7 separate regions of the Homo sapiens genome follow, and all the other regions are linked to region 4. The links are contacts of gene promoters, found by promoter capture Hi-C in blood cells and fetal thymus (Javierre and others, 2016). All regions are on one chromosome and are shown on one strand. The core of a region is centred on a gene start or on the middle of the fragment in contact, and the rest is flanking DNA. Distances in the headings are between cores, read along the strand shown. Region 1 has its middle 68 kb from the start of LINC02098. Region 2 overlaps LOC124902786 (a long non-coding RNA gene). Region 3 has its middle 12 kb from the start of LINC02098. Region 4 holds the start of ETS1 (ETS proto-oncogene 1, transcription factor). Region 5 overlaps LINC02098 (long intergenic non-protein coding RNA 2098). Region 6 has its middle 51 kb from the start of LINC02098. Region 7 overlaps LINC02098 (long intergenic non-protein coding RNA 2098).

Region 1 (2,700 bases), core at 99-2,598, 310 kb after region 4:
TCTGTTCTCAGAGTCCCAGAAGGAGAGGGGGAGGAGTATGAAACAGAAGCAATATTTGAAGAAACACTGGCAGAGAATTTTCCAAACTGACTAAAGACATGAAGAAAAATATTCAAGAAACTCAGCAAGCCCTATTCATAATATTCTATGCCATGGTATTATAACTTCTGTAAAGCAAAGACCAAGAGAAAATTTCAAAAGCAGACAGATTACAAATATGTGCATTATCTTTAAGGGAACAGCCTTAAGGACAATGGTGAACATGCCAACTGAACTATAAAATCCAGATGACAATAAAATAAGACCTCTAAAGTGCTGAAAGGAAAAACAAAAACAAAACCCTTGCTATTCAGAATTCTCAACTTAGTAAAAATATACTTTAAAAATGAAGGTGAATAAAATTCTAGCAGACACACAAATTAACTAAAGAAACTCTTTCCAGATAAACATTCAGTGCCCTAAGTTGGCAGAGAGCTTACAACACACAAACCTCAAACGAATATGCATACAGGAATAATGGGAACTCAGGAATAAATCTATGGATGGATGCACAAAGAGGTCTTAATGTCACCCTGGTCTTAAATAAGACCCCAGAGCCTCAGCATAACCCAGAAGATTGAAGGAAACCCCAACAATGACTCATGCTGATTCTCCACCTCTCTGGTGGGATGGATCTTTGGAGTGAAAATAGTATTTACTAGATAAAATAGCCTTTTTGCCCTCTACAGGGTACCATTTACTGAAAAGAATTGCTGAAGTCCAGATCTCTTTTTCCTGAAACCAAGATTTTCACCATAGTGAAAGTGATTAGTAATTTGTTATATTAGTTATTCCTCCACAGACACACATCTTTTATGTTTTTTGATAAACCTAAAATTATTTTTGATTTCTGATAAACTGGTAAAATTATTAAAAAGAACAAGATTGTGGGAAGGGCTCTGCGACAAACCATTGGGCAACCATAGACATTTACTATGTGATCTAGGTTGTTACAGCAACAAAAAGCACTTGGGTACGAATCCACATAAATGTGTTTTTAACTGTTCTAGATGAACCTGGAATCAATGGAGAAATGTACCATGTTTCTGGGAATAAAGATTAAATATCTCAAATATATCAAATCCATATATTAATTTATGGATATATAGTATGATTCCAAAAACATTCAGCCTAAGGCTTTTTGTATTAAAAAATTATTTAAAAATAATTTGATGAAATAATTAAAGAAGATTTTTGAAAAAGAGGAATAACCAGAATTCACCAACTCTATCAAATATTAAGATTTATCTAAAGCAGTAATACTTAAAGTAGTATGGAATTGGTGAAAACACAAGTGTACTTACAACTTCAGGCAAGGTGGCTTAATAAGTAAATACTTTGAGATTCCCCGCTTCTGCTCCAAAATTATTGAATTAATAGATAAATCATAACAATAGAAAAATTAAAATGTTAGCTTTCTCAAAAACAAAATGAACAGACCAAAAATTTGTGTGAATGAAAGACACGCCAATGATAAAGAGAATATTTTAAAAGAAGCCAGAGAAAAAGACACATTACCTATAGGGAAAAAACCATAAGAATGACTGCGAAATTCTCATCAGAAATAATGCAAGCCAAAACATAGTGATCCACATTTTTAGTGTTGGAAGAAAAAAAAAAACTTGTCGTGTAACAATTCCATATCAATCAAAACTATCATTCAGAAACAAAGGCAAATAAAGGTGTCTTCAAACAAACAAACAAAAAATGCTGAGAAAATTAATCACCAGCAGACCTGTACTGAAAGGAATATCAAAGGAAGTTCTTCCAGCTGAAGAAGAATGATATTCATTGGAATCACAGATTTGCATGAAGGATTGAAGAGTGCCAGGGATGAAAGTTTACAGTGCAAATGTAGACATGGCTCAAATTCACAAGGGTAAATACCTTACCCAGGAAAACTCTCAGCTGTGTGCTGTTGTAATGAAAAGAGAGGACATTGAGAGAGTGACAGGGCACACTTAATCCTGTGCGATTCCAAGAAGAAAAACCAGCATGAATGCAATGTTTTTTGCCTCACATCATTGACAATGCTTAGAACACACTGGGATTCCCGACATTGTCAGATTGTATACATTTAGTCAATTTAGTGGATGTGAAATCATATGTAATTATGGTTTATTTTACAATTCTATCATTCTAGTGAAATTGGCATCCATTAAAATATTTGTTAGCTATTTATTTCTTCTTCTCAGAAGAGCTAGTTTATCTCTTTTACTCATTTTTCTATTGGTCTATCTTTTTTCTGAATGATTCATAGAAATTCTTTTGTTAGGTTGAACCATAAGAAATAGCAATATTCGATCATTTTAGATAGACAAAGGAGGCAATTTCATATGGTTCAATGTAATCTATTTTGGGAAAAAGTCTCTTTTTGGTTATATGTGTTTTAAACATTTCCAAGTTTATGGCTTATCTTTCCTCTCTACTCATGGCCTCTTTGATGAATATGTTTAAATTTTAATGTAGGCAAACATATTAATATTGTCTTATAGATTTCCAGATTATGTGTCTTAAAAATTATCTTCAACCCTGTGATAATAAGAATATTCTCCAATGTTTAAAGATTTTAAGCTCTGACTTTCAAATTTAAACTTTTAAGAAACGTGGAATCTATTTTAATGTATGGTATCAATTAGATATCCAATTTTATTTTCTCCT
Region 2 (2,753 bases), core at 19-2,518, 290 kb after region 4:
GACAATCATTCTAGTTTCATGCCCTTTATCATCTTAGTTGTTCCTACTGAGTGAAAAGTCATCTGGCGAGGTTTGCAACCTAGTACATTTCCTAAGAGGCTTTGTTCATGACAAGGCTGCTTTACTAATCTCAGGAAGCTTCAAGTTTTCTCAAATTTCCAGTTGTAAGTGAAAAATGTACTGGATTGTCTCCCTTTTATATGTTAAAATAATGAGGCATTATTTCAGCACCACCCTTCCCTGTTTCTTTGTTCTAAAAATATAACTCAAGGATTCTGCCAGGTGTTAATTAATCTTCATTAGTCTCTGGAGGGCAGGCAAAGACCTAAGAATTGAGAAATTAAAGCACAAATGTTTAAACAATTAGTATAGAGACTTATCCAAGGTCACCAAATGAGTAACAGAGAAAACGCAGAATCCATGGCTTTCTGATCTTGTCCCCAAAATCCCCCAGGAGAACCATCTTGCATAAATACTTGCATGGCCAACATTTGTAAGAGCAGATGTTTTATCAAGCCAGCTGTACAGCAAGGCCCACCCTTGCCTATCTATTCCTATCTGCTTTTATTATGCTTTGGGGCTCTCGCATGATAAGACCTCCCATATGGTACTTGTATTAACATTAAATAATGGCCATTGTATTGTGTATACTATCACCATAGAAATATTTACTTAGTTGAACACAGACACCGGTCAAGCATGGTGATTAAAAACAAGCTAATCATAAAAACCATTCATGCTCACATCTATTTATAAAATCTGTTTCACTTGTGCCAGTTAAGTATAGGCTTTGTTCTAAACAAACACACGCAAACCTTCTGCACACCCAGAACCATGAAAGGCACCCCTCCTCCCTCTGCAGAAAGCCAGGCTGTGGGGAATGGCCCTATGTGAAGCATCAAGCGTGTGTCTGAGGCTCAACTAGGCTCCTCTGCAGCTGGAGCTGGGCCTGCTGTTGACTTTTACTTTCTTGCTCCTTCATCTCCTCACACTGACACCCTGCCTGGGGTCTCTCAGCCCTCTCATTCTCAAACTACGGTGAGCTCAAAGGCAGCTGGGGTTTTTGTAGTAACTGCAGATACTCCAGATCCACTCATGAGATCTTGTTTGAACTGCTCTGGATGAAATCTAAGATATGATATTCTCAGGAAACACTCAGGTGGTTCTGGTCTTGGGGTCCACATTCTCCACTTGAGAAACGGCCTCTCTAGGGGCATTTCTTGGGACCTCTTGCCTCCTGCCACTCCTTGCCCACAGCAGTCATTGTGGGGTCATCGCTGACACTGCCGAGGGCTGCCTTTAATGCCCTTAAATTTTATTTCAATGGACACCAGTGTTTGTTATAAATGTGTTCCTTAAGTCGTGTGCAGTAAAGTGCATGAGAGCCTGGGCTTTGGAGTCAGAGAATTTGAGCTTTGCTTTGCACTTTGCTGATCATGTGGCCTGGTAAAAACTGTCTAACTCTTTGAGTCCCCATTTTTTTTTTTAACATTTAAAATGGGAATGATAATAGGACTTGCCTCACTGAGGTGATGTAAGGGTGGTGACAATAATACACTTAGAGGATGCAGTGCCTGGCACACCATTTAGGCTACCAACATCACCAGTTGGGAAATAAATTGAGTTGAACTGAGTGGTCCTTTTGGATCAAGGTATTAGAAAATGCCACCTCAGGAAATGTGATGTAAAGAAAAAGACAGAGATGACCTGAATTTGATACCCAGCTCTGCTACCAGAAGGCTGAGTGGCTTTGGCCACATCCTTCTTCCCCTCTGGAAGAAGTTTATAAGATGTTATCTATGAAATTAGGGGACAGGTCCAGAGCAGTGGTTTCCAAACATTATGAACAGGGAAATCCCTTCCAAATATCAATACAGTCATAAAACATACTATAGTTTTTATACTCATGATGGCTCATTGACACTTAATAGCAAAAGGATTTTATGTATTTTGTAATTTTAAAAAATGAATTTACCTTTATTAATTCCAGTCTCATTTACATTTATTTGGGAAATAGTCCTGCTGGTTTTGTATTTTGTATAAGTGGTATTATTTCTAAGACAACAACATTAGGCGAATCGTGAAAGAACTCCACTGCCCCTGGTAGTCACAGACTTTCAGAGTGGGAGCCCCTGGTCCAGACCATTGGTTTTTTATAGATCCCTCCTGTTAACAAAGGCAGTTGTGGAAACTCAAACTCTGAAACAGACACTCTCAGAACTGTTCTGGAAATAGGAGCTGAGGGCCTAATTTAGTTGTCTTCTTTCTCTTCCCTCACTCCTCATCTTCAGCCAGGAAAGATCTGCAAGGCAGTTTTGTTAATTTCCTAGTAACTGAGCACCTCCTGTAGGCAGGCACAGTGCTAGATGCATAGGTTATGTCAGAGAACAAAGCTTCATGCCATCGGGGGCTTCTTTCTAGTGGCCGCGTGCCTCTGAGGTCACTGGCCTGACTTGTCTCCATGTTGGCTCTTACTGTCTGATGCTAGATTCCTGGGCAGACCCAGGATAAATAAGTGAAGCTTGCCTTTGGTCACTGGCTCCTCTTTTGCCTCCTTCTTTTCTGTTTTTTATTGTTTCTTTCTCCACCTAGGTCACATTTTTCCAGGACCAGGAACTGTGTTTGTGATTAGGGACAAACATCTTTCTCCTTCCAGGCTTTGGTTCCCATATTTAGGAAACAAGGGCTGATCCCTAGAGCTACAAGACCCCATCTAACTCTGTAATTGAGTCTAATTAATTCAGCAGAAATAA
Region 3 (2,700 bases), core at 119-2,618, 390 kb after region 4:
CAGCTGGAAACATCTGCAGGACCATAAATCCTTTCTTGCATAATTTTTTTTCCTGTTAAATTAAGTCCCCCCTTTCTGTTAGTAATTTTACTCATTGAAAAAAAATGTGCTCTGGAGAGTGACAGTCATGAACATAGATGGAACAGAATATTAAATTACAGAATAAAATATTGAAATAAGACAATTATTGGATAATTAGGGCAAAAACTCAATGTATTTATAACTTTCAGGTAATCAGAGCTAAAAAAGCATAATACAATCAAATCAGTTTTTAACATATAGATAGTACCTCTTATTTTTGTTATAGTTTCCAATAAAATCTCCCAGTAGCACAAATTATTGATAGTAAAATCATTGATTAGTGACAGTAGATAAATAACTCGTAATTTTCATCTGACAGCTATTTGATACAACCATGCAGGAATATCATTTTATCATAAGAATATCAAATTATTTGACATATTAATAGTAATATAACATAGTCATATAATAATATAATAGGATTAATTTATCACAATACACTTATGTCTTATAATACATAATGCCAAATGACTTTATGGTAGTAGGGCATCCATTTCACTGATGACTCTCATCCTCCATCTAATTTATGTCTTAGAACAAAAAGAATGCTAATCATCCTTGGGTAGAGTAATTGATTAAGTACTGATTGAGTTTCACTGAAGGCTAACTTATTTTTTAAGGCCCCTAAATATGATGGTGCTATAGGGAGTGCTATTGAAGTGACTTACTGTCCAACAATCAAGAATAAGCATAATTACTGAACCCTCTCCCCCCAATAGCTTTATGATTTTGGAGAAGACAGAAGATGAAGTAGGGAAATATCTCTGGAACAGCATTTATTAAAAGTGAACTTTAGAGATCATTTGCATCTGGATTATCCGTAGGGTATCTCAGAATACCCTACGGATATCTCGCAGAATCTGAGACTGAGATGTAGACTCCATCTTTGGGCATGGCTTGGATCTGTACTTTTCACAAGCTACTTAGGAGACTCTTTGGTACATTAATATTTGAGAATTTCTGACCTAGAAAGTCATGAAATTGGGGAAAACAGGTTTATTAAGCCTGTAATTCATTAATACTGTGAAATGCTTCCTGGAACCACTAGCATTGATTAGTAAACACAAACACCATGGGGCTGCCAATATCTAACTGAAGATCTAATAGGGAAGGTAAGAATGGTACCATTTCTATTAGCACTATTACACCCTCTACCAGTCCCATTTGGTAAATGCTGTCCAGAAAACTCAAATCCTGGGGAAAGTAGGCATTATTACATTTAATCTCACTTCTTAAAATCACTGGGCAAAGTAATTTGGAATTAGTTATACTCTGGAGTGCAGATCTCTTTATTTGGTTCTTATGTTTTTGAAGTCCAATATTCAGATAGATTCCTTTTTCCACCCTCTCCCTATAAAGAATTCAAATCCTAAAGAAATGTGGAACACATTTCTTCCCAGCCTAATGAAAAACAGAATCTTTTACAAATTGTGAATCCACATGTGGGAACTCAGGAGTTTGTATACCGATGTGTGTGAATGTATGATTGTGCAAAGAATTAGACTCCGTTGCGAACACCATCTCAACAGTTCTGCTCACCAAGATCCCTAAGGCCTTACTTAACATTGCATTTTTAATTTACATTACCATTAAAACCTTTTATTGTGTTGTTTAATTCAAGAAGGTCGCTGAATCCATCAAAGTTTCTCATAGATTGACACATGCTCTGGCAATCCATGGAAGTGTCCTTCATGAAGGTTTTCATTACTTTGTGTTTCTGTTATTATCTGCAGACATCTTTCTGTAGTCTGTGATACATTAGGAGTTCAAAAAGAGAAGGTGGCTGCAAGTGTGCTTTACAGTTTGACCAGATGTGTAGCCAGTGTCATGAAATACATCCAATTATACTATAAATAGAGGGCAGAGGCTTACTATTTACCACTTGGTGATTAATAAAATGTGCAGAATGCTGAGACATATCTCACTCCCTATTACTCAATTACTATAACCACTCTTCTTCCAGAAAAAGACAAGTCTTGCAGATGTTAGAGAATGGATTTCATAATGGAAGTCTCTTTAAAATAGCCTGAAAAAAATGGAGCTTAGATTGCAAACCAGAAGAGGCTGGATTTTTCCTCTTTTTTTCCAAAAGTAATAAAACTGCAGACAATAAAGATATTCAAATAAATAAAACAAATCTCTGATTTCACTAAATATTCTCTAAAACTGAAGGTAGAAACCTACACATACATTGTGAAAAATTTGCTCTTGCAATTGGGCTACAGAATGTCCTATAAAATTTACAGCAAAAAATATATTAATCTGTAGTTGTTAAGAAAATTACCTGTCTTATGTGAAAAGTTTTCTATTTTCTTTCTCCCTGTGGTTTCAGGTTTAGACAGTAAGGACGTTTCTCTATTTGAATTTCATGTAGGCTCATATCCAGTAGAAGGTGAATCATGTCTCATATCATGTGGGAGAGCTAGTAAGTTAATTAAAGTGGTTAAGAACTTGGAGAGGGCAAGAAAAAATAATATATATATATATTTTTTATATACAATATATTTATTTTAAATATATACATATATATATATAAATGTAAATATACATATATTTATCTGATAGATACTGGAAATTAAAAATCCAGAGAAATATATGTTGCATTTTTGGGTGGCTGAA
Region 4 (2,700 bases), core at 135-2,634:
TGAAATTGACTGGGTTACAGGGGCAGGCTGAAGCTTCCCTAGCTCTCTTCATAGACTTCTTTTGTAGCATGTATTACATTTTTGGGGGGAGATCGTTGATTTATGTGTCTGTCTCCTCACTACAATGCAAACTTGCTATCTTTCTAGTGCCTAGAACAGTGCCTGGCACAGGCAATTTATTAAACTAAAGTGAACCAATAGCATTACCTCTTCCTTACTTCCAAGTTAATGTGCAAAGGCAGAAGATGAGCAGTAAAATCTTGCTTTACTTACAATGTCATCTTAACTGCATTGCCAGCTTTATACAATGAAGGCTGATGATGATATGGCTCCAAATGACAGTTATTAGATTTTCAAGGATTTTCTAAGTTTGTATCTTTATTAAAAAGAGAAAGAAGCCAACTATGACAAATCTTAACTCCCACCTCCTACTCAAAGAAGATGGAATCTTTTAGGATAAAAGTCTTAGATTAAGCAGCCAAATACTGACTTCTCAAAAAAAATTGTAATAACTCCATTCATAGAAATGAGATTATGCTGTAACATTCTTACCATAGTCCTGAATATGTGAATAAAAGATGCTGTGTATTTTCACTTAGGACAGATGTAAGATTTTCATATTGTTTACATTTTCCCTAAATGAGAAATGTATGAACACTTCTGCCCTTTTATTCCTGCACCACGGACCATGAGTCAGGGCTGCTAAAAGTATCCTTATTTTAGAGATTGCCTAAAACCAGACTTATATGAAAAGGGGATTTTTAGCTTTACTTTTCAGAAATCCCAAGTCCATATCCAGTCAGCTCTCTTCCACAAAATTATTTTCTTTTCTTTAGAAAATATCACATTTCATATCAAGTTATTAGAGAGAAACGGGAAGCCTGAGCAGGTGACTGGGTGGTGGACGTCCTGTGTTTCTAAAGCAATCCCTTTCCCTCACCTGAGACCTTGCCTAGGTTAATGGGGGCTCCATTGAGAAAGTCAAGGAACATGAAGCATGAATATTTACATATTCAGCAGAGAGTAAATGCATCAGCAAATGATGAGGTGAGATACAGTGTTATCCCACTGAACTAGTTCCCTTTTGCTCATCTCCCTCCCTGTTACTCTCCAAGGCTGAGTTATATTCAGCTGAAGCACAATTTGAAGAATACGAAATAATGTGTGATTTGGTGCCACCACTGTCAATCAACAGTGCTTTCCACCTAGACTGCTGTGCCTGTGCCAGTGGCTGCTGTCCTGGTGCCAGGGGCAAGAGGAAGACTGCCTTTTTTCCAGCTTTCCCTGGCTTGACCACACCCCCCAATTTAAGGAGGCAGCTCTATTAGAAACATTATGGTCTTTGCATCCTCTTAAGCTACGGAGCAGAGGATTCCCGCAGGTAGTTGGAAAGAGACCACAGACTTTGAGGGAAGCTCACTCAGGATCTGCTCTCCGGCAAAGTAGTAAGTGAGGTGTGTGTCAGTTTCTGCCTAAAACTTTTCAGTCCATTTTCCTTTTCCTGCTTTAAAAAAATTTCTGTGGAATTAAAGAGTAAGTCGGTAGGGAGATTCAGGATACAAGTGAGTTTTCTCTTTCTCTTTTCACGTCTTTCTATATTCCCATTTAATTGTTTAACAATTTTCAAAAATACTTCCTAACCTCGTCAGAATAGTCTGAAAGCAAGACTATGTTTTTAAAAATGTTCCCTGCTTCACAAAAGTAAAACCATGCACGTTTTAGATACCCGTAGATTACTTGTCAGAAACCCTGATTTTTTTTTTTTTTTTTTGCAAATTGGAGCACTTCCAAAGAAATAAAGCTGTAGTTAAATATATAAATTTCTTTTTATTCTCTTTCACTCCTAGTAAATCTATTGTTTTACTTTTTTCTCCTGCTAGTAGTTTAATGAATTGCTTTTAATAGAGAGGAAATTGCTACAGGTTTGAATCTTGCTAGCCAAACTAGCCTGTTTGGTGTTTTTCTCTGTCTTGGGACTGACCTGCAGTTGTCCAAAGATCTACAAGTTCCTAAGTCTGTTGTTGAGACATGGTGTGGGTGTGGGCCGCGGTTGTCTCAGAGTTAGGGAGGTATTTCTTGTCCCCACGGTAGAGCTGGACTCAGTGGCAGGAGATGTCGATGGCAATTCCTCTGCATCCGGTGATTTTATCTGGCCGTGACACTTTGTATGTGACTCCTCACCCACCGTTAAAGGTCTCTGTTACCAACTTTTAAAGTAGTATTTTCTTCAGGCAAACTTAAAAGGGTGCTGGGTCACTGAAATCAATGCATTCTATTGCAGGATTTCTTTATCACCTTTTGGGTAAGTTTTTGTTTTTAATCTCAAGTCCATTTTCCTTCTTACTTTAGACCACTGCCATGCAACTGAGAAAAAAGTATTTGTTAAACAGCAGGAAATACCAATTCTAAAATGATAACTCCATCAGCTCCATTTGATTTGTAAAATTACTGATACTATAACTCTTTCATCAGTTGTGGTTTTGGGTTTGGTGGCCTATTTTTATCCAAAGAGAAAACGCTTTTTCTTCAGGGGCCGTGGGCTGTGCACAAGGGCTGCAGGGTGGCCACTGCTGCTGTTGAGAGTCTTGCTCACCTGTTGTTCCTGAATGGAGGGAAGGGAGAGCTAATGGGTTAATGTCTGCAAAGTGCTTTGAAGATGAAAAGGTCTTTTCATGTGTTCAGTAGTGCAGTTATTAATAT
Region 5 (2,700 bases), core at 14-2,513, 370 kb after region 4:
ACATCCTGCACATGCACCCAATAACTTAAAATTTAAAAAAGAGAAAGAAATCACAGCCAGTTCTCATTTGTGCTGAGGGGAATTCAGCAGGGGTAACCAAGCAGAAGCCAGGGCTCCCTGCTGAAGCCACAGTGCAGGTGTTAAATGTTTGGTGATTGCCCTAGTAATGCACTGTGTGGAGAGGCTAAAAACTGCTTTCTCCTTTGAGATCTCCTTGATGCCTTATCTTTCCAGGCTAAGTCAATCCCCCATTTCCTCCGAAATGTGTGTGATATTCTGAAGTGGAAATACTCTGAATTCCAGTTGCAGCTAAGGGCTTACTTGAGCATAGAAGAGGTTAAGTCTTCCGACTTAGGTCTCCTTTGTGGCTATTTGAAAAAATTCAGAGATGAGGATCTCCTTGGGTTCAGGAGATTGGTTTCCCAGGGGGACACCCAGAATCAGATTCCTGCACTGAGCAGACTTTGCATGGCTTCCCATGACCTGCTGCTATCTCAAGAATTTTTAAGTACTCAGAGAATGCCTTCTTGTTTATAGTGAAAAATAATTCAAGGTTTGAGGGATTTATTACTCAAGGCTGAAGGATAAACCTCTGCATTCTTCATTTCGGACCAAGGTGGCTCTCCCTAGAGGCTCTCAGCACCCTTGTTTCTTCTGGGCCGCACACTTCTTTTTTCAATAAGCTTCCGAGGCAGATAAGAAGAGGTGACCTCTGTCTCTACCCACTCTTCTGAAAGGTGGAGTCCACAGAACAAGTCTTGCATTTATATGAAATTGAAATCATTCATTGTTTAAAAGGCATTTATTGAGCATCTGCTGTGTGCAAAATATTGTTCTTTATGTTGTGAAAAATACAAAAAATAAAAACCCAAAACAGAAAACGACCAATCAGAATACATTATCTCTTTCCTCAAGGAGACAATACAGGAGAGAGGAAAAAGATGAATAATGTTACATCTCAAGCCAAAAGCCTGGACACTACCTTGTGAACTCCAAGGGAGACATTCAAGGGTGTGGAGAAAGCCCAAACATGCGAAGGCAGAATGTATACTTTATTTATCTCTGGGGTAAACAAAGACATGGAGGCAAAGATATTTTGTAGGATAGTTCAGGCTGAGTCCACAGCACACATGTTGTGGAGTGCTGGGAAATGAGATTGAAGGTGGAAATGGTAGACTGAGGCTATGCTGTGGCATGTTTTGGATACAGAATAATACTGTCCTGCCCAAAATCAGCATTCTTTGATTGCATGAAGAAAGTGGAATTTTATGATTAATCTGGTGCAGTTAGTAGGAAATCAGAAATAGGAAACTGACGCAGCATGGTCAGTGATGATAATTTTAATACACGTATTAACTGGTTAATCTTCCTAAGTCATTTATAATATATAGGGAAGACATTGTCTACACTTTACAGATGAATACATTGAAGGTCAGAGGGGTTAAATGACTTGTTAAAAGTTACACATAAGAGCCGGGTGCGGTGGCTCACGCCTGTAATCCCAGCACTTTGGGAGGCTGAGGTGGGCGGATTGCCTGAGGTCAGGAGTTCAAGGCCAGCCTGGCCAACATGGTGAAACCCCATCTCTACTAAAAATACAAAAAACAAAAAAAATTAGCCTGGTGTGGTGGCACACGCCTGTAATCCCAGTTACTCAGGAGGCTGAGGCAGGAGAATTGCTTGAGCCCGGGAGGTGGAGGTTGCAGTGAGCTGAGTTCATGCCACTGCACTCCAGCCTGGCCTACAGAGTGGGACTCTGTCTAAAAAAACAAACAAACAAACAAACAAAAACAAAAGTTACACATAAGATAAAAGGACCAGCCTTCACTTAGACCCAAGCTTCTTTACTCTCTGTGTGTCTTTGGTATTCCAAGTCCATCTTGTTCCAGAAACAACTAATCAGACCTCTTCTAAAATGTTCTGTAAAATTTAAGTTTTTGCAAACATAAGGTGGCTCTTGATCCACAGAGGTGGGAGGTGGGCATAATTATGCAAGATATCTTTGCAGAGATTTTTTAAAAGCAGAGGAAATATATGCTGACTTTCTAAATTCCACCTTTTTATTTTTTAGGCAAGGTCTAATTCTGTCGCCGAGGCTGGAGTGCAGTTATATAGCTCTCTGTAGCCTTAACCTCCTGGGCTCAAGTTATCCTCCCACCTCAGCCTCCCGAGTAGCTGGGACCATAGGCTTGCACCGCCATGCTGGCTAACGTTTGCATTTTTTGTAGAGATGGGGCCTTAGCATGTTGCCTGGGCTGATCTCTTATTCCTGGACTCAAATGATCCTCCTGCCTTGGACTCCCAAAGTGCTGGGATTACAGGTGTGAGCCACTGTTCCCAGCCTAAATTCCACTTCTTGAATAGTCCTGTCCATTTCAGTGTCTTGTGATGAAGAGATTTTATTTGAAGACTAGTGAAAATATAGCGAAATTCATTCAGTGCTGAGATACTCCCTGCTAGTGAGTAATTTATAAAGGCAAGTTATTTTTCTTAGGCGAATAGGATGTGACTGAACAATTATTATAACACTTCTGTGTTCATAGATCCAAAGCTACAGCTTTTCTTATTGCTAGAGGTGGGATGTCACATCGTTGTAACTTGGCAACGGATAAGTTTACCAAGTTCTATTCAACATAACTTTTTTTTTTCTGGCTTCATTTATGATGCAAGGGACTGTTGGGACTCCAGGAGGAAAAAGAC
Region 6 (2,700 bases), core at 126-2,625, 330 kb after region 4:
GTCAGGGAACTCTCCCATCTCATTGCTTCTGGTTAAGATCTTCCATATGTAATTTGAATTCTACATTTTCGGAGTAAGCTCAGATCATGTTAATTTTGCTTTTGCTCTAGAATATTTTCTGTTTCCTATTTATGTGAGGAAACATTATAGCAGAATGTCCACATTCTAGACCTAAAGTATCTCCTAGCTGGTATGCCACAGTGGCTCATTTTCAAGGAGCTGAGTTACAGATAGGAAAAATATTGCCTGACTATTACACCTTTCTCGAAAAAGCTAAGCATACCCTTCCTGGCCCTGTTTTTGTGGGAATGCAGCAGCTCATATGAATATCATTAGAAAAAGAATAAACTCTCTCTACATCCCTTTCACTCTCATGGCATTAAGCAAGATCAGGCCTTGATTATAAGGCACGTGGGCTTTTGTCCAAGGAGCAAATTAAATAAGTGACCTTTTCAAGGAAAAAGAGGAATACTGTAGTACTCAATGATATCATAGTTTCTGAGAGCAGCCTGAGATCAAAAGTAAAGGCGGATTTTGAGGAAAAAATGATGCAATGAATGTGTGAATAAAAGTAGTCAGAAATTTGATCTAAGGTTTCAGATAGTAAATCAAAATAATTTATTTGAGTCTCTACATGATCTCTCTCTCTCTCTTTCTCTTCTGTTGGAATTAGATACTTGGATTTCATTAGTTATTTTATTTTCTTGTTTACTCTGTGGCCTTTCCCTGTAGCAGGAACACTCAAGCTATTCAAAGGAGAAGAAGCCAAATAAATCAAATTCTTTAAGTCACAGCTTAGAGATACTTGCTGGTTCCTGTAGACCTTGAATCTCCAGAAAGATCTGGGATAATTTAAATGTGAGAGTAAGAGAGATTTAGAACTTTGCAACCATAAAACTTATATTTGACTGAAGATATGGGCCAGTGGATACAACTTCCTGAGGAATATAAATATGCCAAATATGCAAAAGAATATTTGATCACCCATGACTGGAGGAAAGCTACTAAGTGACTCTGCCAGGCCATACTGTTGACTTATTTGTAAAAGGAGGAGGCTGAAAATATGAAAGACACCTTTAGAAGTAAGTGAGAGCCAAGAAAATACAACAAGAGAGGAACGTATTCTCATCCACTGACTCCCATAGCACACAGACTTTGGAGTCAAAGGGTTGAGGGCTGTGTGACCTTCTCATAGTTGTTAACTGTTCTGAGCCTTCGCTAACATGATTGAGAATGAAAATCATCATAGACTGGTTTCAGTGTATTGTTGGTGCCCCAAAGCAACAGAATTCTGGGTGTACACAGGCTGCTAGATGTGCCCAAGTGTGAGCGTGCTGGAAGTTAGAAAGCTGATGAAACATTTTAATCTGAGCTTTGTGCCTTGAATGAACTCTGTGTTCCTCCTGGTAGCCTACTTTACCCTAGGAATCAAAATAGAGCTTTGAACCATTTTCTTTATAAACTGTCCTCCTAACCCCCATCCCCTGCAGTTCCCACACACACTGAGGCCAGCTTTGGCCCACTTTGCCTTTCCCAGGCTTCAGGAGCCCAAGAGACACTAAAACCTGGATTTGTTGGAGTCGTCTATCCTGCAATTTCCCCAAACACATACTGAATAAAGAACTCTAAAACTAGTTTTCATGGGCTATTTGTTCTGTCTTCCCCCAATCTCTTTATACTTAAATTATGACTGAAGTCAGCTCCAAAGTACTTAAGTGCCAGTGATTTTGCTATTCGTATGCTATGTTTCTATTGACTTTAAAACTAATCTGATCATTCAAAAAGCTGCCAAACCCAGCCCAGAGGAATAAAGAAATAAGAGGCAACCTTTAAATAGGGGAGGGTGGGCATCCATGGCTGCCGGTTAAGAGAGCACTTCCCCCAGGTGTGACTATATTAAAGCCATATTTCACTTTAATGGGGAAAGACTGGAGGGGAATTGGGAGAAGGTGACCCCTCCTGACGCATGGGATTCCATTTGGGCTAATAAAAGACCACTTAGCTATGAGGGCTCATTACAATTAAATTGTCTCTAAACAGTTGCTTGCTTGGTAAACTTCAAAAGTGGAACAGCTGGGGCATATGTAGGTTGGGGGGCTGAGGTCTGTCCCTGCCCTGGAGCCAGCAGTGGATTTCAGGGGCCCTTGTAAATCTAACTGCATAGGAGGTGCTGTTGAATGTCCTTGTAGTCTGTTTCTCTCAGCAGAGGACTCCAAGCCAAGTACCAAATCTGCCCCAAACCTAATATAAACTTTTTCCTTTCTCATGCTACCCTATTCTAGTTTGGTTTCAAGGTAATATTACCCTTGTTAAATGATTTGGGGATAGTTCCCTCCTTTTCTAGTTCCTGATACGATTTATAAAATAGAGACTGTTTATTACTGGATAGTTAAATTGAACTTGCTATAAAACCTTAACACAGTGACTTTGTTTATAGACTTTTATTTTTAATGTAAAATTGGAGAAGTTTTGATATATGTGTATACTTGTGAGGGCATGAGCATGATTAAGATAGTGAAAGCATCTGTAATCTCCCCAAATTTGCCCTCGTCCCTTTGTAATTTATCTTTCTAGCTTCTCAAATCTCTACCCTAACCTAGGCCCCAGAGGACCATTAATCTATTTTCTATCATAGTTTGCATTTCAATTATACATGCATTATAGACTTTATGTTATATTTTTATTTGTCTGTTTAAACAA
Region 7 (2,700 bases), core at 17-2,516, 340 kb after region 4:
ATTGTGCAGCCATTATTGGAACCCACATTGGAATGATTTTCATAGCTCATTTAGTCCTGACAAGCCCTGCCTCATCTCCCCTCTACTGTAAAGCTGTCCATGCTTGGCTATTTTCCATCAGGTTTTTAGTTGAACATCTTTTGCAAGTTGAAATATTATTTAGAACATTTCCTTTGATTTTAAACATACCCAGTAAAATTTGACATCTTTAGAAAGTTGAATTTTTAAAAGCCTTCTTAATTTATAGCATCTTGATTTAAAATCAAACCTTGTGAAACAACTTAAAGAGCCCATCAGTTTTACTCAGTAACGTTTGCTGAAATAAGCATAAACAAAATGTTTTCCTCTGAAGTACATGAGGGTTAAAAGTTTGTGGTAAAAGAATTCTCAAATGGAACATTGCTTGGGACCATTTTGATTGTGTTGGTGATGCTACTGGTCTTATCTTGGATGAGAGCTGGTATAAAATTGTTTAACTTTTGCTTTGAACTCTTTTAAAACTCCAAGCATAGGTTTTAAAAGAGAAATAGCTAAAGAAAGACAACTCTAAGCAAATTTGATCTTCATCCACATTTGTACACGTCAGCATTGCTAAGATGATCACATGCGTCTTCAGGAATGATGTTTACAGCCTTTGATCTAGCGTGTAAATGAAAGGGTACATTTGCACACAGCCTCCTTAGGGTCCATGATATGAATGTGTGTTTTACCTACAGACTCAGCTACTCAGAGGTCTGGTTCAGGATACTCACCTCAAAACACAAGACACTAGAGCAATGGGAGGGAGGAGAATGGTAAGGATTGGTGGCACATTATACCCTTCAAAGGATACATTTCCATCAACTCTTCAGGAAAAATACCTGGAAACATATGAGCTTTTAGTGTATGATGATTCCTTAGGTATAGGAGTCTATGTGCACATCTTGTGTGCATGGGATCTCTTTGTTTTAGTTTTGCTCCTTTTATTTGTTTATTTTTAGCCAGCTTGTGCAAATGACAATAGCAGAGAAGTTATCATAGTCTAAGGAATCATATGCAGCTGGGTTTCATTCTCAGAACCTCTACTTACTATACTTACTACCTTTTTTCTTCTTTTTTAACTTGAGTACAGTTACCTTACCTCTCCAAAACTCACTTTCATCTATAAATGTAAATAAAAATAATCTGTCTACTCCACAGGCATGTTAAAAGACTACGTGACAACAGTGTCAATTGACTGGCACATGGTAAGTGCTCAATAAATCAATTCATGGTACTTATTATACTGAGGCCTTTCCATGCTGATAACAAGAAAAATGGCATTTTCAGTTAATTTTTTCTTAAATGTAATGAACTATAATAAAATGTAACTTAATGTGCTGAAATCTGCCCAATCTCTTCTGATACCCATGCATTACAGTACTGAAACACAATTGCCAAGCTACTACAACTGTTTTTGCAACACTGTATTTTATTTTAAAATGATAAACATGCTTGGCCAGCCAAAACACATAATTGTGAGTTACTGGATTTATTTTTTCAGTGTAGGATTTCAGTTTATTGGGAAACTAGAAGTTGTCACATTAAAAGTAAATTGTACACAAACAAATATGCAGTAATATAGTTCTGTGATTTCTTTTTTTTTTTTTGTGAGAGAGGAAGAGGAGAGGGTCTTGCTCTGTTGCACGTGCTGGAGTGCAGTGGCATGTTCACGGCTTACTATAACCTCCACCTTCTGGACTCAAGCCGTCCTCCCAGCCTCCTGAGTAGCCGGGACTACAGGCGTATGCCATCACGCCTGGCTAACTTTTGTAGTTTTTTGTAGGGACGGGGGGTTTCCCCATGTTGCCCAGGCTAACTCCAGGGCTCTAGTGATCCACCTGCATTGGCCTTCCAAAGTGCTGGGATTACCGGCATGAGCCACCACACTCGGCCGGTTTGTGGTATCTTGAACTCCTGAATTAAAGATTCATGAATATAAAGGATCCCAAATCTCTGCTTAGGGATTTTTTTTTTTTTTTTTTTTTTTTTTTTTTTGAGACGGAGTCTCGCTCTGTTGCCCAGGCTGGAGTGCAGTGGCGCTGTCTCAGCTCACTGCAAGCTCCGCCTCCCGGGTTCACACCATTCTCCTGTCTCAGCCTCCCAAGTAGCTGAGACTACAGGCACCCACGACCAAGCCCGGCTAATTTTTTGTATTTTTAGTAGAGACGGGGTTTCACTGTGTTAGCCAGGATGGTCTCGATCTCCTGACCTCATGATCCACCAGCCTCGGCCTTCGAAAGTGCTGGAATTACAGGTGTGAGCCACCGCGCCCGCCCAGGGATCTTTGTAACTGACATTAAAACGTAAATACTGATGTTCACATTAAGGAGCGTTTTGGCATATCATCATTACTAATGTATATTTTGCCCTTTGATTTGAAATCAATGAGTTGGAAAAGCATTTGTGTGTCTCACAGGGTATCTATAACAGCATGGATTAACATTTTGGGGTAAAACAAGTATGGAACAGTTTTTATGAGTTCTTTTTTCCTGTTAACTAATATTCACATCAGTGAAAACTTTGAATTCTCATCAATCTGTTTAAATTTTCTTATTATAATTAAGCACAACACATTTTCCCTTTTTTTAATTGACGTATAATAATTTTACAAGGTACATAGTGATGTTTTCATACATATCATGTATAGTGATCAGATCAGGGTAATTAGCATATTTATCA

Evidence for each region. Contacts are between HindIII fragments. The CHiCAGO score rates a contact against its expected background, and 5 or more counts as called.
Region 1: a contact is called between a fragment that was not itself captured here and the fragment with the promoter of ETS1 in region 4, in 12 of 17 cell types (activated CD4 T cells, total B cells, non-activated CD4 T cells and 9 more). The highest score is 20.2, in activated CD4 T cells.
Region 2: a fragment that was not itself captured here is called in contact with the fragment with the promoter of ETS1 in region 4 in 17 of 17 cell types (activated CD4 T cells, naive B cells, total B cells and 14 more); the score reaches 34.9 in activated CD4 T cells.
Region 3: a fragment that was not itself captured here is called in contact with the fragment with the promoter of ETS1 in region 4 in 16 of 17 cell types (activated CD4 T cells, total CD4 T cells, naive CD8 T cells and 13 more); the score reaches 32.4 in activated CD4 T cells.
Region 5: a fragment that was not itself captured here is called in contact with the fragment with the promoter of ETS1 in region 4 in 12 of 17 cell types (activated CD4 T cells, total CD8 T cells, naive CD8 T cells and 9 more); the score reaches 16.7 in activated CD4 T cells.
Region 6: a fragment that was not itself captured here is called in contact with the fragment with the promoter of ETS1 in region 4 in 13 of 17 cell types (activated CD4 T cells, total CD8 T cells, total B cells and 10 more); the score reaches 22.6 in activated CD4 T cells.
Region 7: a contact is called between a fragment that was not itself captured here and the fragment with the promoter of ETS1 in region 4, in 5 of 17 cell types (total B cells, non-activated CD4 T cells, activated CD4 T cells and 2 more). The highest score is 9.1, in total B cells.

What each region holds. Positions count from the first base shown.
Region 1 is chr11:128,275,809-128,278,508 of GRCh38, reverse strand. No RefSeq gene overlaps it. Among named protein-coding and RNA genes, the nearest start is that of LINC02098, 68 kb to the right of the region's middle. The HindIII fragment of the contact is 4,353 bases long and covers 1-2,700 here.
Region 2 is chr11:128,295,345-128,298,097 of GRCh38, reverse strand. LOC124902786 (a long non-coding RNA gene) reads right to left here. Exons shown (of 2, transcript XR_007062945.1): 2 at 1,949-2,753. Among named protein-coding and RNA genes, the nearest start is that of LINC02098, 88 kb to the right of the region's middle. The HindIII fragment of the contact is 2,255 bases long and covers 141-2,395 here.
Region 3 is chr11:128,195,711-128,198,410 of GRCh38, reverse strand. No RefSeq gene overlaps it. Among named protein-coding and RNA genes, the nearest start is that of LINC02098, 12 kb to the left of the region's middle. The HindIII fragment of the contact is 5,347 bases long and covers 1-2,700 here.
Region 4 is chr11:128,586,242-128,588,941 of GRCh38, reverse strand. ETS1 (ETS proto-oncogene 1, transcription factor) reads left to right here and starts at 1,384. Exons shown (of 10, transcript NM_001143820.2): 1 at 1,384-1,454. LOC105369565 (a long non-coding RNA gene) reads right to left here. Exons shown (of 5, transcript XR_948163.3): 4 at 1,982-2,602. RefSeq lists a silencer at 1,225-1,431. The HindIII fragment of the contact is 9,036 bases long and covers 36-2,700 here.
Region 5 is chr11:128,220,245-128,222,944 of GRCh38, reverse strand. The region is part of intron 3 of LINC02098 (long intergenic non-protein coding RNA 2098); the gene reads right to left. Among named protein-coding and RNA genes, the nearest start is that of LINC02098, 13 kb to the right of the region's middle. The HindIII fragment of the contact is 1,156 bases long and covers 686-1,841 here.
Region 6 is chr11:128,258,313-128,261,012 of GRCh38, reverse strand. No RefSeq gene overlaps it. Among named protein-coding and RNA genes, the nearest start is that of LINC02098, 51 kb to the right of the region's middle. The HindIII fragment of the contact is 4,926 bases long and covers 1-2,700 here.
Region 7 is chr11:128,241,427-128,244,126 of GRCh38, reverse strand. It overlaps LINC02098 (long intergenic non-protein coding RNA 2098), which reads right to left. Exons shown (of 4, transcript NR_146647.1): 4 at 2,686-2,700. Among named protein-coding and RNA genes, the nearest start is that of LINC02098, 34 kb to the right of the region's middle. The HindIII fragment of the contact is 9,586 bases long and covers 1-2,700 here.